2 separate regions of the Homo sapiens genome follow, and region 1 is linked to region 2. Evidence: promoter capture Hi-C in human tissues and cell types (Jung and others, 2019). All regions are on one chromosome and are shown on one strand. The core of a region is centred on a gene start or on the middle of the fragment in contact, and the rest is flanking DNA. Distances in the headings are between cores, read along the strand shown. Region 1 has its middle 6.5 kb from the start of AKAP19. Region 2 holds the start of ASNSD1 (asparagine synthetase domain containing 1).

Region 1 (2,900 bases), core at 320-2,819, 510 kb after region 2:
CCAGCCTGCCCAAAATGGCGAAACCCCGTCCCAACTAAAATTACAAAAAAATTAGCTGGGTGCAGTGGTGGGCACCTGCAATCTCAGCTACTCCAGAGGCTGAGGCAGGAGAATCACTTGAACCCGGGAGGCAGACGTTGCAGTGAGCCGTGATCATGCCACTGCACTCCAGCCTCGGTGACAAAGAGAGACTCCATCTCAAAAAAAATAAAATAAAATAAAAATGAGATGGCATGTGAAGGGCTGTTATGGTTCTCAGCACATAGTAGATGCTCAATAAATAGTAACTATTATCTCTAAGTTAGAGTTAATTCTCTACTACATCTGATGAGGTTAGCAGTTAAGTGAAATATCACAAACCATAAAATATTCGTACATAGATAGTTTCTTATGTTGAATTATCTGGAATTCATGAGTACCAATTCATTCAACATTTGGCAGTTGGTTTGCTCTCTAAGAAAAAATGTTCAAAAGATTGAAAGCTGCCTCCTTAGCCAAGGACCACAGCAGAACTCACTCTGTCCTCATAGAGGGCATACACTGTAAGACGTCAAGATAATGCCTGTAGTACTGGGGTGAATGTAGTTCAAATGCCAAGTGCACGTGAATTTATATTGTGAAACAACTCCTAAAATGATAGAATCTTGGCTTTGAGAAATTTTATTCTTTGTAAAAATCTCCCTCATAGCTTCCCAGATAGATCATCTGACTTCTGGTTGAAAGGGAAGCTCACCATTTCACAAACCAGACCATCGTCTTCTAAGTTATAACCAATAGACAGTCCTCTCTTAATTAAATCCAGAACTCCCTGCTGGAGGATACAGTAAATTCCTCTTCAAAGTTTAGCCTGTTAACTTCCTTTAAAATTCAAGATCGAGAAAATTGTTAAGTACAGTGAGTTCTGAGTTTCTCTCCAAAGAACCAATATGTCAGTATGTTCAGCTTCCCTGTTCTTTGTTCTCCATCTTAAAGTCTGACTTTCTTGTTCTTTACGTCTTCTTGCCCCTAGTTTCAGTAAACAACCCCCTCCTAGCTTCTGTCACCTGCTCTGTCCTTAGTCACCTGCTCTGTCCTTAGTCATCCTTAGTCACCTGCTCTGTAACCATCCCTCCCACCAAAACTACTCACCCTGCCACTCCGGCTCCTACCTTTGCTCTCTTTAAAATAGCCCAGTCAGAATTAGCTTAGACTGTGTGGTCCAACCCTAGCCAATAGGGGAAAAACATAGCAGTAGGGACTAGCTGCATTAGGAATAAGACCCCCTTCCCCCACCGTGTCTGGTGTGCTCTCGCCATTGCTCCATCCACAAAACACACCCTTCTATAGAAGTAAATTGCCTTGCTGAGAAAACTTTTGCCTGAGGACTGTTTTCACTTGGTGGCACTGAGCATTTACTTCCAACACTGCCATGACTTCTTCCTGCTGGTTCTCGTACTGCCCATCAGAGCAGCGCAGATTAAATACAGTCCCTTGTCCATATGAATACCCCTCAGATTTCTCTTCTCATTCTCCTTAACTTCTTCAGGATAAATATTCTAATGTCTTCAGTTATGTGGCTATGCCCCCTTTCAAGGTATATTAGTCAAATATTTAATTTAAAAATCATGAGCTAATAAATATGTGAAAGTCCATAATTCCAGGGAGAAGCTAAACTATGTTGATCAAATTGGGACAGATTGTTTTTAACACCCAAGGCAGTGAAACAATGGAAAGTGACTCATACTGAAAGGCACATATGCCCTAAGTAAAAAAAACAGAACATACAATATAATATGAAATTTGAAATAGCAAATTTTGGACCAATGGTTATTGCAGTATTTATATGACTTTTAACAATGTCTTATACTCACATTTGTAAGCAAATAAAAGTTGGCCCCATCTTGATGCCAAAAATGGTTATCAAAATAAATGCAGGTGAAGACTTATAGAAGCTTGGATTCATGGGCCCAAGCAGTAATGTTCTTCTCTGTTTAAACTGAGATGAAATTATATAAAGCACCAAAGCAAAGAATCATGCCCAACTCCACAAACATTTCATGCCTTCCTTGTGTCAGGTGTTGGAAATAAGCACATAAGATACATAGATTACATGGAGTACATAGTTCCTATCCTCAAGATGCTCAGAATTTGGTGGTGGGGGTAGGGGTGGTAGAATAAATATAGGTAACCATAAAAGACAACAACAACAACAAAATCAGACGCTTATTTATTTCCAGGCACGTCTACCTCTTTGGGGATTGTTAAATCTACTTATACCATAGAAATATAGTGTCTATTAATGATGCTTTAAAGACTTCAAAATGTACTTAAGTTCAGCGTAAAGATCTTTTGACAGATCTTGTATAGGAAGATGAGGCTTGTTTACGGACAGATGCACATCAGTAAACTTAAAGACCAAACTCAACACAAAAAGGAATGCAGAACAACTTTAAGAACCAAACAAGTGAGAAGAAATAGACTGATGGTATAGTTGACAGCTTATATAGTTGTAAATATAATGAACAGAACTGGATTATACATTACACGGTCAGGAGATACTATTCCACAATAGTCTCATGCTCTGCATTAAACTCTTATTTGGAACTATTCCCTAGTTTGGGTTGCCGGACATTTAGTTACACCTGGAGAACCAGAATGGGTCTAGAGCAGCCTAACAAAATGTGAGTAAAGGAAATTCTGTGAGAAAAACTAAAGAATTTTTTTCTTCAGGAGTGAGAAGCTTGGAGGGGCTATTTGATTTTTGTCTTCCACATAAGGAAGATAATGTCAATCACTTCTCACTTCAGTGACATAATGAGTAAGACTACAATGGCCTACAGTACCATTTGGAAAATTTAATTCATAAGAGCTTTTAAGCATATCATGATATATATTAAAATATTATAATGGCAAACTGCCAT
Region 2 (2,837 bases), core at 114-2,613:
TGAACCCCTGGCCTCAAGTAATCCTCCCACCTCAGCCCCGAGTGGTTGCGATTACAGGTTTGAGCCACTGCACCTATCTACCTCTCTACCAATGAGACTAGACGTCCATCATCCAACAGATACCACCAAATGGTTAGACCACAAAACCAAACTCCCAATCATTGCTGCTATCAATGTATCAGTAATGTATAAGTTATACCTGAATAACTTATCAGGAATGTACAAATCAGAAATGAAAACACAATCTTTAAAAATCAATTATAAAGGAAAAATATATAACCACTTGGGTTTTCTGTAAGAGCAAATAAAAAACATGCCTGGCCTTAAACAACCCATGATGTATACATTTCTTTCGCCAGATAGTTTGATTCATCACATAAATCCAGTTGGGCATCTCTGTGGAAACTTAAGATTTCCAATAATATAGTATAATTATCAAAAACCTAAAATCATGTCTCTAATGTGAACATAAAATATATACATGTCAAACTTTTATTCAACTCATTGGTTAGTGAGGGAACCGATGACTTTAAAACCAATACAGAATATTAGAGAAGCTAGGCATATGTTAATAAAGAAATGTTAGGACAGAATGCAGGGTTAGATACAAAACTGACTAATGTGTTGCAGAACAATAAATCATAACCTGTGTTGGTATCTGGTACAACAAAAAATTATTTGCATCTCTACCAAACCAAAATCTCTACCAAAGTTAACCTTTGCCCCTACAGAATTGTAAAACAGCCCAGTCAATATAATAAAGTCAAGTCCAGAGCAGCACTGAAAGAGCATCCAGTAAATAAATCTCTTTTGCCTATTTCCAAGTTTTAGTCATTTTTTCCACAGAAATGAGATATTGCAAATATTGCACGGGACATAGATGCACTAAAAAACTATTAATTCATCTGAAGTTCATACTGTATTTTATCCGGCAACCCTAACCACGAGTTAACCAAAACTTTACCAAGTCTGTACAGTTCTTTTGCCAACACGGTATCTCTTAAATCTGTTCCTTAGCTTCATCTTTCCCTAGATAATAAATATCATATTAAGCGCTGTTTCTATTGCACGACTATTCTTCATATTTACCACTGGAGGGCGCACAGAACTCGTAGTATACTAGATAAGAGGTCATGAAGAAACCACCTGAGCGTTTCTGCATCTCAACCACAAGAGGCCAGTACAGGAACCTCAGATTTTGCAACCAGACTGTTTACTCGCTCCCTAAGCAGCCATGCGCAGGCGCGAAACTCCTCCCCAGGCCAGACCCGGCCTGCGCATGCGTTCAAGTGAGCGCGCAGACGCTATTGGTAAGACTCGCGGGAAAAGAAAGGGTGAGCGCGGCTGGAAGCGCGCATGCGCTGTGGCTAATGCCGTAGGCTCCTTCAGGGCTGAGCCATCCCGCGTGTCTTGCGCTCGGTGGAAATGCCCAGCCGAGGGACGCGACCAGAGGACAGCTCTGTGCTGATCCCCACCGACAATTCGACCCCACACAAGGAGGATCTAAGCAGCAAGGTGAGTGTGAGACGCGACGAAAAGGCTCCTGGACTCGGGACCGGGCGCCACTGGACCCTGAAGGTGGTCCGCAGCGGGCAGCGTGGGGCCTGCCTGGGCCTCGGCTTTGCCCTGCTACTTTGCTCTTTTTATTCATAGCACTTGACAGCCACAGTTAGTCCTTTTATTTTCTGAAAACAGTTGCGAAAAGGGAGATCTTGAAATTTGTCCCGAGACTGGACCCAGGTGACAGTGGGGCGGAGTTTTGGTTGGGTGTTTTCCTCCCTAGTCTTTTTAAACTTTTGGAAATACCGCCCACCCCAAATCTGTTCCATCAAAGATATTCTCCATCCAGTTAACCATGCCAGCAACCCGGGGTCCATCCTTGACCCCCATCATGGAAGCCTATCAGTTCTACCTTTGAAGCTCATTTCAAATATGTCCCTTTATCACCGTGAACACTCTTACCACCCCAAATAAGCCACCGTCATCTGCTATCGGGACCCCTGCCCCCGGCAAGGCCTTCCTAAGCGGTCTCTCCTCATCCACCTGTTAGCTGCTGCTTCTCCGTTAACCAGAGCAATGGTCCTAAAACACGCATTGGGTTGTCACTCATACCAAACTGGGGGAGAGAGGAAGCCAATATAATATAAGCCTTAACTGCCATAAACAAACAACCTTTAAAGATAAATGGGGGTGGCGAGGGTTATAGCCCTTCAGGTATTACATGTCCTAGATTCTACTTTGGTTCTGTCCCAAACTTACAATGACATCTTGGGCAAGTCTCTTTAATCTTTCTGTATCAGTTACCTTCTTTGAAGTAAAGTGAAATGTACACCTGTCATTCCTAAAATGGGAAAGCCCTGTATAAATGTTAAGTCTCAAAGAATGTTTACAAATTTGGCCTTGGAATTCAACCTCATTACTACAGCTCTGCCAACGGGGGAGACAGAAAGGTGCACATTCATGGGGATTGGGGGTGAATTTTCAAAAGACACACAGCCCATTCTGATTACCACCATAGCAAGCCACTTACGCATACTGGTGGTTACAGATCCCTGAGGTGTGTGTGAGGTAGCACAAATATGATAAAAGCTGCTTTTAGAGGCTCTTGTGATACTATGTAATCAGTCATGTTCACAAAATAAATAGAGTTAAAAAGAAACTTAGTTTTCACTTAGTTGAGCCCTCCCCTACAAATAAATGAAGCCCAGGCCAGCATGGTGGCCCAGGCCTGTAGTCCCAGCTACTCGGAGGCTAAGGTGTGAGAATCGCCTGAGCCCGGGAAGATCAAAGCTGCAGTGAGCCGTGATCGCACCACTGCACTCCAGCCTGGGTAACAG

Evidence for each region. Contacts are between HindIII fragments. The study calls those that stand out against the background at their distance.
Region 1: a fragment that was not itself captured here is called in contact with the fragment with the promoter of ASNSD1 in region 2 in 1 of the 25 tissues and cell types used here (lymphoblastoid cells).

What each region holds. Positions count from the first base shown.
Region 1 is chr2:190,172,915-190,175,814 of GRCh38, forward strand. It overlaps a transcript of AKAP19 not described here. Among named protein-coding and RNA genes, the nearest start is that of AKAP19, 6.5 kb to the right of the region's middle. The HindIII fragment of the contact is 3,430 bases long and covers 1-2,900 here.
Region 2 is chr2:189,660,096-189,662,932 of GRCh38, forward strand. ASNSD1 (asparagine synthetase domain containing 1) reads left to right here and starts at 1,364. Exons shown (of 6, transcript NM_019048.4): 1 at 1,364-1,515. ASDURF (ASNSD1 upstream open reading frame) reads left to right here and starts at 1,364. Exons shown (of 4, transcript NM_001353493.2): 1 at 1,364-1,515. The coding sequence starts at 1,426. RefSeq lists an enhancer at 1,422-1,611. The HindIII fragment of the contact is 8,906 bases long and covers 1-2,837 here.